Linked DNA regions of Homo sapiens: regions 1 and 3 are each linked to region 2. The links are contacts of gene promoters, found by promoter capture Hi-C in human tissues and cell types (Jung and others, 2019). All regions are on one chromosome and are shown on one strand. The core of a region is centred on a gene start or on the middle of the fragment in contact, and the rest is flanking DNA. Distances in the headings are between cores, read along the strand shown. Region 1 holds the start of SNAI1 (snail family transcriptional repressor 1). Region 2 holds the start of B4GALT5 (beta-1,4-galactosyltransferase 5). Region 3 holds the start of SNORD12B (small nucleolar RNA, C/D box 12B).

Region 1 (3,747 bases), core at 204-2,703, 270 kb after region 2:
GGGGAGGACGATTTTGTTCACGGCTGTCACACCCGGCACCAAGTGACTAAACAGACAGTAGTTCTGCCCTTCAGGTTGGTGGTGGTGGTGGTGTGGGGTGCTTATAGGTTTTTATAGTCTTCCTTCACAGGTGGAAACAAGAACGGTGAGACCTGTGAGGTTTATTTCAGAGCCACCCCCGGGCCTGGTACGCCTCCCAGGGAAGCTGGGGTGGGGGTGCAGCTGCCCCTCACTTGGGCCCACCCCACATGCATTCAGTCAGGGCCCCTATGGAGCCGTGTTACAGCCTTTAGACACAGGATCGAGGATCTTCACGGGGTGAGGAGACACGCCCGGCCCATGCCTTCTTTCTCCCGCCAGCCTACAGGGATCTTTTTCAACGAAACTCTAACCAGGTCCCTCCTCAGCTGAAAATCCTTCGGTGGCTCCCCAGTGCCCTTGAGGCAAAGTCCAAACTCCTACGAGGCCCTGGGGCCCAGCACATCTGACCCCTCCGGGCATGCCCATCCCACCCCATCCCTGGAAGCTGCTCTCTAGGAGTTACTCTGAAGCAGTTGCCACTTCTTCCCTCGGGCCTTTTCCCTTGATAATTCTTCACTTCCTCTGGGAAGTCACCCCGACCCCCTGTCAGGTGACCCGCCTCTTAACGGTCGCCGCGTCCCGTCTCTCCCCCACCAAAGCACACTTCCCTTTGCATTGTAATTATCTGTTTACTTCGTCTGTCTCCCTCACTGGACCAGAAGCTACCCTTCGGGAGAGGCTCTGAGTGTTCTGTCCGGGGCTGTGCCCTGGCCCCAGGTACAGTGCCCCACACGTGCTGGGCGCTCCGTAAACACTGGATAAGGGAAGGAACGGGTGCTCTTGGCTAGCTGGGCCAGGCTGCTTTGCAAAAAGGCCGTGGCATTTCAAGCCGCCGAGAGCCACGTGCGGTGTCCCTTTCCTCGCTTCCTCCCCAGTGATGTGCGTTTCCCTCGTCAATGCCACGCTCTCCAGGCGCCAGCCGGGCGGAGGAAATTTCCGCCCCCTCCCAAGCCCGAGGCGGGGGCGGGCGTCGGAAGGTCAGGTGTCCCGGCCGGCGCGCAGCGCCAGGGGGCGTCAGAAGCGCTCAGACCACCGGGCGCTGAGCCGGTGGGCGCGCGGCGTCCTGCCGGGGTCCCACCTCGCAGAGGCCTCGCTTCGCTCGACGTCCCGCCCCGGACAGCCCCAGCACCGGGGACGACCCGCGCTGCGCCAGCGAACCCCGCCTCGGAGGAGTCCCCGCCCGGGCTCTCACCGCCACGCGGCGCGAGCCCGGCCAGCAGCCGGCGCACCTGCTCGGGGAGTGGCCTTCGGCGGAGACGAGCCTCCGATTGGCGCGGAGGTGACAAAGGGGCGTGGCAGATAAGGCCCCGCCCCTCCCACCCCCCACCACCCCCCCGGAGTACTTAAGGGAGTTGGCGGCGCTGCTGCATTCATTGCGCCGCGGCACGGCCTAGCGAGTGGTTCTTCTGCGCTACTGCTGCGCGAATCGGCGACCCCAGTGCCTCGACCACTATGCCGCGCTCTTTCCTCGTCAGGAAGCCCTCCGACCCCAATCGGAAGCCTAACTACAGCGAGCTGCAGGACTCTAATCCAGGTGCGTTGGAGGGGTTCTGGGCTCCAGGAGGTTTGGGGGAGACAGGCGAAGGCTGCGTGGGGGGCACCTGAGGGAGGCGGCCTGCCTGAGCCAGGATCGAGTCACAGGATGTTTTGTGGACCATTGCGGGCTCGGGAGACCGGGCAAGTGGGTCCCCAGTTCCGGGGATCTGTCTGGGTGGTTGGGGGAGTGCCGTGTAGAGGGCAGGGGTCTTCAGCTTGGGGGGCCTTTGTAGCCGGCGAGAGGCGGAGGAGCTCCGCAAGAGGGGAAGGAGAGGAGGCCTGTGTCAGGAGGGCCCTCTGGACGCTGCTGGGGAGAGTCCGGAGTCCAGAGGGTTGAGGGGAGGGGTGGGGAGACGAGATGTGTGTGAGGAGGGGGATTGGGGCAGGGTGGTGGCTCCGGGGCTGGGATGATGGGGTTCTGGCCTCAGGCTGGAGACTGGGGACTTAGGAGAGGGAGATCAGGAAATGACCTCCTTCAACTGGGGGTCCTACGTGTGAGAGACTCAGATTGGGTGACCTGGGCGAGGAGGGCAGGAACCTGGTCTGTCCTGTGGATAATTTTTTTGATCTAATTATGTATTGAGAATCGGCCCCACCCAGCCCCTGGCCAGCGGTGGGCTCATGTTTGTTGATTGAGTGAATGATTTAATTAACGCCTGACTCTGCTTTTTCTCCCTCAGAGTTTACCTTCCAGCAGCCCTACGACCAGGCCCACCTGCTGGCAGCCATCCCACCTCCGGAGATCCTCAACCCCACCGCCTCGCTGCCAATGCTCATCTGGGACTCTGTCCTGGCGCCCCAAGCCCAGCCAATTGCCTGGGCCTCCCTTCGGCTCCAGGAGAGTCCCAGGGTGGCAGAGCTGACCTCCCTGTCAGATGAGGACAGTGGGAAAGGCTCCCAGCCCCCCAGCCCACCCTCACCGGCTCCTTCGTCCTTCTCCTCTACTTCAGTCTCTTCCTTGGAGGCCGAGGCCTATGCTGCCTTCCCAGGCTTGGGCCAAGTGCCCAAGCAGCTGGCCCAGCTCTCTGAGGCCAAGGATCTCCAGGCTCGAAAGGCCTTCAACTGCAAATACTGCAACAAGGAATACCTCAGCCTGGGTGCCCTCAAGATGCACATCCGAAGCCACACGCTGCCCTGCGTCTGCGGAACCTGCGGGAAGGCCTTCTCTAGGCCCTGGCTGCTACAAGGCCATGTCCGGACCCACACTGGTACGTGCCCCTCCAGGCGCCCCCACCGTTGCTCTCTCTGGCAGCTTTTGTGAATCTGGGCTTGCTGTTCTCATTCCCAAAGCTGTGGACACTGAGGCCCCGAGTCTTCTAACTTCTAGCTCAAGTTCCAGGGCCTGGCTCTCTGGAAACGTTTGGCAGAAACTTTCTTCATCAGCTAAGCAGATGGGCAAAGCAGACACCTTCCCAATCCCCTGCAGCCTGTTTCTCAGCCAAATGGGTCGGAGCTGGATATGGGAAAGGTGCAACCAACACCTTGCTGTGGGGGCCAGGTGTGAAGGGGCCCACCCGGCCACACCCTCTCCCGGGTCCGCCCCCTCCCTAGCCAGACAGGATGTTGTCAGACCCCCCGCCTGGCTCTGAATCCTTCTTTGAGAACTTTCTCAAAACTTAGGCTGATGTTTCTCTTCTGTGAGCCTCATTTTCTCTATCTTTCAGATGGGCATGAGAACAGCTTTTGGGGTTTCTATACAGGCTAAATGCAGGAATGCATATGGGAAGCACCTGGCAAAGTGCCGGTACCTGCTAAACTCTCACAAAAATGGTTCCTTGGCATTTGCTCTGCTTCCTTGCTGTGTGACTTTGGGCAAGCAACTTAACCTCTCTGAGCCTTAGGGGAAAACTATGATAGCATATGTTTTAGAGAGTGGCTGTAAAGGTGGCTAATCACTTTATAGTAATTTATTATACCCGAACGGTTCTCAGGTCGGCTTCCCCACCCCCACTGAATCCTAGCACACAGACCAGGAAACGGCATCTTTGGGGCAGAAAACACAATCACGTCTTTTGAAAATTTACTAAATGTGTAAAAAACTTTCTGGACATGGAGAAAAGGTAGAACTTTTTAGAACTTGAATGGTGGCAGCCACTGTGCCTGGAGCTGCTCTTTGGAGAGTGACAGTTG
Region 2 (3,616 bases), core at 48-2,547:
TACCATTTCCCAAAGGCCCCAATCATATCCCCTTCTCTACGGACAATTTAAACTTCTCCTTTGTCCGCAGAGCAGGCACTATCCAATACTGAAGAACCACACCATCTACCCTCAAGGCTAGGAGAGGGCAGAAGTGGAAGAAAGAACACAGACAGCACCCCTTCCCCAGGTCTTCAGTTGAGAAAGAAGCTGTGGCTGAAAGTCTGGGGGGCTGGGGGCAAAGGTGACAAGGATGTGCCCTTGTGGGTACGCGAGGTGGGGGGGGGGGAGATGGGGAAGAGGCATGGGACGCTCAGGGGATTAGCAGGAGATTGAATGGGGGTGGACCTCTGTAAGGGGAAGGGGGGTGCCACCGGCAGGCAGAGAGATCAGGCCACTGAAGAGGTGAACGTGAGTTAGGGAGGAGGACCTGGAGGTGGATGTAATAGGGGAAGTAGAGGAAGAAAGGGGAGGGAGGGGGCTCACGGGAGCAGGAAACGATGGAGTCATGGGGAGTGGGGGAGGATGGATGGGAGCTAGAAGGTGGGGCGGCCTGGGACCCGGGCACATGGGCTCGGCGAAGAGCGGGCGCGCCGCGGGGGACTGGGGTGCGGGGAATGCCGGGAATGGGGGTTCGAGGAGACCCCGGGGAAGGGAAGGGGAAGCGGGAGTTCTCGAGCAGAGGAGCGGGAAGTGGGAGTTCCAGCGAGGCAAGAGCGGGAAGGGGGTTCCGGAGCAAGGGGCGGGCGTGAAGGTACAGTCGGGTTCGCGAGGGTGGCGTTAGGAGGGGCGGGGTGGGCCGGAGGCTGGCGCGGGAGAGGGATCCCGGGCGCCTGTTGGGGTGCGGAGGGCAGGAATGTCCTGGCGTCCCCGAGAGCCGGGCCAGGACTCCGGAGTCTTCGGAGGACCAGGCTCAGGGCCGCCTCCCGGCCGGGGCCCCTTAGGGAGGGGCGGGGATTCCCCGGGTCCCTCAAGGCCAGAGCGGCAGCCGCCGCGGTCCCAAGCCCCCTTCCTACCTATGCCGGGCGCCACATAGACGAAGTACAGCAGCGAGGACGAGAGAGAAAAGAAGAAGAGCGCGGCGAGCAGCGAGCGGCGCGGCAGCCGCAGCAGCCCCCGGCGGGCGCGCATGCTGCAGCCAGGCGGCCGCTAGAGAGCCAGGCCGGGCCTGCTCCCGCAGCTCCCCGTCCGCCGCCTCCTGGGCCGCCGCCGCCACCGCCTGGGCCTCGGCCACCGCCTCCCGGGCCTCGCGGGCCGCCACTCGCCGCCGCCGCCGCCTCGCCGCTCCCAGCCGCCGGCCGTCGCGGGCCGGGCCACATGAAGCGGGCGGGGGCCAGAGCGGCCCCGAGCGGGCGCAGCGGCGGGGGCGGAGGCGGGGCGCACGCGCGGGAGGCGGGGCCAGTGCCGCCGGGCACCGTCGCAAAAGACCCGCGCGCTTGCGCTCGCCGCCGACCCTCGCTCGGCGCCCACAGCAGCCCGCATGGAGTAATCGCCAAATGGCGACAGACCCTCTCCCAGTGCGGCCACCGCCCAGGCTTTCGGGGAATGTCTCCCAAGTGCTCCGCGCTAGCTCGTCCCCCATCTCGGGGGCCAAGGGGCCATCTACAAAGTCTGACTCATCTCGTTGCCCACTGCAGCAGAAGAGTGGGGACTGCAAGGCTTGGGGGTTCGGCCTGGTATACACCCTCATTCATTCATTCATTCATTCATTCAATTCACCATTTATTTATTGAATGCCAGACACAGTTGTTGGCGCTGGGCATGCTACAGAGAAAAAAAACGATAAAAATCTCTGTCTACTTGAAACTTACATTATGTGAGAGATAAAAGAAACAAATCAGCTAGTAATATCAGGTACTGGTAACACATATGAATACGATAAAACAGGAGGATGTATTGCAGGCAGGCTGGAGTGGTCAAGGAAGGCCTCACTGAGCAGTGACACGAACTGAGATATAAAAGGGTGAGAAAGCGCCAGCTTTTTTGAATAAGCTGGGGAAAAAGCAGTCATACCAGGGGGAACAGCAGGTGTAAAGGCCCTGAGGTAGGAAAAGGGCTGATCTGCCCCCGAGTTGAATCCAAGGCCAACATGGATAAAATCCAGTGAAGTAGGGGGGGAAATAGGGATGAGCTTGGAGCTGTAGTCAGGGATCCTACTGTATCAGAAATAGCATAATGATAACAATTGTCAATGTCTCTAGACTTCTGCTGAGAAACATGGACTTCACTCATGCCATGAAATTCCCCCACCAGTCTTGAGATGTGTGCTGTTATTATTACTATCATACAAATGAGGAAACTGAGGTTTCTAGATGGAAAGGCAATTCACCCAAGCCTTGCAGTAAGGGCTTAAATCAAAACTGGCCTGTCTCCCATGTCAGGCCCTTGACCTCTAGGTTGTAACTGTCTCAGCAGTCTGTATGACCTCTAATTCTTATCCTGCAGGCAAATCGGTATCCTATCCCCATCACCTGGGTATGGGACCATATCCAAAAAAATGCTTTCAGATCAGCATCAGCTCAAAGGACCTCAGAAGGCAATGAACAGTCCTAGAAATTTATGGCAAGAAGCAGTAGCCTCAAGGAGCTGGACTGAGGAGGCCAGTGTCCCTGTGTAGACATATCTGAAACTAGGGTACTGTCTTGGAATGCCAGAAGCAGTGGGGAGGGGAGAGGACTTTGCAGGGATTCTGTGAGAATCAACAATAATTCTGATTTATATTCCTAAAGTGATTTCTACTTTTTACAGTGTTTCTTTGATCCTTTAAGTGGGGAGTCTAGAGCCACACTGCCCAGGTTCTCTGACTCCCAGCTTTTCCATTGTTAGCTGTGTGACCTCACGCAAGTTAAACTCTCTGTGCCTCGGTAAAATGGAGGAGGTTATTAGCAACCTCATCAGGTTGTTGCGAGGATTTAAGTAATACATGCAAAGTGCACATAGTAAGAGTGCTTAGCTGTCACCTAATTCAATACCCCTGGAGAATGGTATGGTGGAAGAGAAGAGGCTTAAACGATCAAAAAGGAAAGCAGAGAATTTTGACTCAGATAGATGTGAGTTCAAATCTCGGCTTGGCATCTCCTGGCTGTGTGACTCTGGGAAAGTCACTTACCTCTCTGAGCTTCTCTATTCATCACCTGTGAATCGGACCCAGTGCTGCCCACCCCACGGGGATGTGATGTGGATTCGATGAAATAGTGCAGGTAAGGCCCTGGACCAGAAATCCCAGACTAGCCGGAATCATCTAACTTGCAAATAGTTTTTGTTGGCCCACACAATGGCCCCTCCCAACCCTCGTATCTATGAAACATTTTCAAACATACAGAAAAGTTGAAAGAATAGTACAAGAAACATCTGTACACTCCCCACCTGGATTTGATCATTGTTATCATTTTTCCACATGTATGTATCTATATTCATATGTTGAAAATTTTTATTTTTTGCTAAATATTTAAAGGTAGGCTGGGCGATTACACCTGTAATCCCAGCACTTTGGGAGGCAAAGGCAGATGGATCGCTTGAGCTCAGGAGTTTGAGATCAGTCTGGCCAACATGGCAAAACTCCATTTCCACAAAAAATACAAAAGAATTAGCTGGGCGTGATGACGTGTGCCTATAGTCCCAGCTACTTGGGAGGCTG
Region 3 (3,631 bases), core at 808-3,307, 430 kb before region 2:
CGGGGCAACAGAGCCAGACTCCGTCTCAAAAAAAAAAAAAAAAGAAAAACATGTTCTGAATGTTTTATTCTCACAGTTCAAATATTGGAACTAGGTTTCTGGTGAAGAAACAGGTTTAAGAGAAATGCCTGAAGTGAAAGAACCTTGTTAGTGAAGAGGCGTTTAACATTTTAATGCCACTTAAACATATTTTTGGATTCCATTCTTCCTGTGTGTTGGGGCGCTTAAATTTCCAAGTGGAGGGATGATTTATTGACATATTTTGGAAAGCCAAATGTGTTTTTCTGTTGAACTAGCCACTCAAACCAGTGCCCGACTACATAACTAATATTTTTGCTAGAGTCCAGGAGTGAGGCGTTTACAAAGTCTGGGCTTCATGGGAACACATGTGAAGCTTATTGTTCCAGATTGTTCTTTTGTCAGGTAACTTGTGGTAACTTGTGTTAAAATGCAATCTCTTGGTACTTGTTCACTTCCCAACTCAGTAAATGCCAACTACTTCCTCAACTCTTCCAGCCACACTGGCTTCTATCATGGGCCTGTACTCAGAGTGTAAGCACTGAAGACAGGGGTGTTTGGTTTGGCTACCAAGTTATTGCCAGCTACAGGATACAACACAGAAGTGCTCAAACACCGAATGCAAATTTGCAAATATGAAGCATACCAACCAAATCTTACTCCTCATGGCTTTCAAATCTTACTCCTCACTCAAGAACTTCCTGCTGGCATATATGATGACTTAGCTTTTTTCCCCGACAGATCGACTATGTTGATCTAACTTTTCTAAGCCAGTTTCTGTCTGATATGCCAGCTTGAGCAGCTCCTTTGTCCCAGCTCCCCTGGGCATCTAGCTGATGGGAGCTCATTTTTCTGTTTTTTCATTTCAGGTTTATTGTTGGCCAAAACCAGGCTTTGATTGAACCAGGATGAATGCGGGTGTTGGAAGTAGAATATATATATACATATAAAATTGGTAAGTGGTGCCAACACGTCTTCCCTGGCTGAGTAGACACAGGCTCTGGAGGGGGTAGTAGCTGCTTTTCAGTGTGGGTTTGTCACCCTACTTCTTGTACGACTCAAATGTGGCCTTTGCAGCTGATGATACAGCTTCTTTCCCCATCAGATCGACCCTGTTGATCTCTACACTATTGGCCAGTTTTGTCTGATGCATTGGCCCCAGTAATAACTCCTATCTTTGTTTTCTGCTTATCTTTATCAGAGACTATTGCTTGTTCATGGGAACTGGGCTTTCTCTATTTTTTCCAGCATTCAGATGGCTTCTTTTGACCTGTTAACTTTCTATAGGTTGGGAGCCACGTGTACCAGTGTGTGTTGATCTTGGCTTGATTCAGTCTGCCTTGTAACAGGTGAGGTTTCTGCTTTCTATCTGCCAAACCCCACCGCAAAATTTGTCCAACTGGGCCTAACCTCAGGACCCATTTCCAAGTTGGGTATAAAACTGGGAGAATAAGTCATTAGGACTGACATTGGCCTGTTGGTATTACTAGGTCTTTGTTGGAAATAAGAGCTTGGAGTTCCAAAGAAAACGAGCACTTGAACAAAAGATTTCTCAGCAAGGCAAATTTACTTCTGCCGTAGGGTGCTGCTGCTGGCATTCCTGGCAAGAGCACACCTAACAAAAGAGAGAAAGGGTTTTTATTCCTAACAAGTAGTCCCTGCTTCTGTGTCCTATCCCCATTGGCTGGAGTCGACAGCGCAATCTAAACTAGTCCTGATTGGCTATTTTAAACAGGAGGCATGTGGGTTACAGCTGTGGGAAGGGCAGGAAACTTGTTTACAGAGCTGGTTGCTAGGAGTGAGGGGGACTTTTCCAAATAGGGAACAGGTTACAGGTTGAGATTGGCCGGAGAAGTTGTTTATAGAACGGGTAACTCGGAGCAGGAAGGTATGAGGAAGTTGACCTTAAGAACAAAGAACAAGGAAGTTAAAACTTTGAAGAGAAATCCATTGTATCTAACGATTTCCCCCTTTTGATTTTTATAATTATTTCTCTTCAGACTTGTTTTAGCGTGTCTTGATTTTGTTCCTCTTGGTCCTCTGAAATTAGAAGCTTAACTGAATGATGCGAGGGAGGATTGAGGAAGATTTTGGTGGGTGAGAGCTGTTAAAATAAGCTTTTGTATTAATCCTCAGATACAGGGTATGATACAGCATCCTACAAGAATGAGCAAACCTATTCTGATGGCAGGAGATTGAGGACGTAAGTCCTTTCCATTTGCGGAACTATTTTTCCATTAAAATCGTGAAGGGGTCATTTATTCCAGAATTTCTAGCTAGCTCATTGGATAAAGCAGTAAGTCCTTGGGCCTTTGTTATGGTTCCATCGGGAGCAGTATTATTAGGGATGAAAGTACAACACTGGGTTCCAATCATGACACAAACTACACCTTTCTCCGCTAGTATCATGTCTAATGCTATTGTATTTTCTCAGGCCGTTTGACTGGTGGGCCCTAATTGTTAAACTGTTCCCTTAATAGCATCCCTAGTATAATTAATGAATCGTTGCTGGGTTACATTTTTTGTGTTTTTTTTGAGATGGAGTCTCACTCTGTCGCCCAGGCTGGAGTGCAATGGTGCAATGGTTCACTGCAACTTCCACCTCCTGGGTTCAACCTACTCTCCTTCAGCCTCCTGAGTAGCTGGGGGCTGTCACCATGTTGGTCAGGCTGGTCTCAAACTCCTGATCTTGTGATCCACCCGCCTCAGCCTCCTAACATGCTGGGATTACAGGCGTGTGCCACCACTCCCGGCCCAATCTACATTTTTATTTAGAGTTGACCACCAGAACAACATGGATTCAAACTTGCAGCTATTTGATTTTGGGCCTTAAATCTATCTGGCACTCCTCGTGGGATTCCAATGGCATCTATATAAACATGAGAGTCACGAGGGACATCCATTGTTTTATGATGTTCTGTTTTTATGTATGTTTTCTGGATGAAATACCAGGGTGAAAGGGAGATAGCCAATTGGATTAGAGCTCAAGTGCCACGCCAAGTAACTTGGCAGAGTATTCAGTAATGGTCCACCACAACACCACCATACGTTTGCTTGGGGATGAATAAGGGACGACTGATTGGTAAGCTCCTGGAAGGGCTTAAGCTCACTGCATCTCGTTAGGTCTCCAAGCAAATTCAAGTTCTCCCCCTGTGAGAGACACGAGGTAAAATTGGCATTGGAAGACGGATGCTTGATGGCCCTCGGGGGCTGACCCGCAGGGTGTCGGACTTCAGGGGACTTCAGGAAACAGCAGCGAGAGAGTTTGGCATAGCTTATTGCCCCAGGTTGTGGGGTCTTGGAAGAGAGCTGCCATACAACTTAATGCCTGATCGGCTGGAGGACGATCCGAGTGGAAAGGGAACAATCTGGGGCTCTGGCTTACCACGTGCGTAAGCATAACAATCGCTTTGTTTAGCGAGCGGACAGAATGTTTAATCCATTCCAGCCATGCATTTGCATCTCGGTACCGTTTCAATTGGTAGAGTTTGCTTTAGATCTTTAACCTCTACAATGGTCACTTTGGTTTTGTCATTGGGTGTTTGTTTAGAAGGGGATGAAGGGGGTGGGGGAACAATGAAGCGCATTTCGAAAGATCCTGTAGGGTCTATCC

Evidence for each region. Contacts are between HindIII fragments. The study calls those that stand out against the background at their distance.
Region 1: a contact is called between the fragment with the promoter of SNAI1 here and the fragment with the promoter of B4GALT5 in region 2, in 1 of the 25 tissues and cell types used here (thymus).
Region 3: a fragment that was not itself captured here is called in contact with the fragment with the promoter of B4GALT5 in region 2 in 2 of the 25 tissues and cell types used here (dorsolateral prefrontal cortex and spleen).

What each region holds. Positions count from the first base shown.
Region 1 is chr20:49,981,527-49,985,273 of GRCh38, forward strand. SNAI1 (snail family transcriptional repressor 1) reads left to right here and starts at 1,454. Exons shown (of 3, transcript NM_005985.4): 1 at 1,454-1,615; 2 at 2,298-2,825. The coding sequence starts at 1,534. RefSeq lists an enhancer at 1-796 and a silencer at 949-1,468. The HindIII fragment of the contact is 23,979 bases long and covers 1-3,747 here.
Region 2 is chr20:49,712,581-49,716,196 of GRCh38, forward strand. B4GALT5 (beta-1,4-galactosyltransferase 5) reads right to left here and starts at 1,298. Exons shown (of 9, transcript NM_004776.4): 1 at 996-1,298. The coding sequence starts at 1,110. RefSeq lists silencers at 771-890, 1,181-1,510. The HindIII fragment of the contact is 30,885 bases long and covers 1-3,616 here.
Region 3 is chr20:49,279,598-49,283,228 of GRCh38, forward strand. ZFAS1 (ZNFX1 antisense RNA 1) reads left to right here. Exons shown (of 4, transcript NR_036658.2): 3 at 888-973. SNORD12B (small nucleolar RNA, C/D box 12B) reads left to right here and starts at 716; the gene lies at 716-818. SNORD12 (small nucleolar RNA, C/D box 12) reads left to right here and starts at 1,086; the gene lies at 1,086-1,175. The HindIII fragment of the contact is 4,058 bases long and covers 29-3,631 here.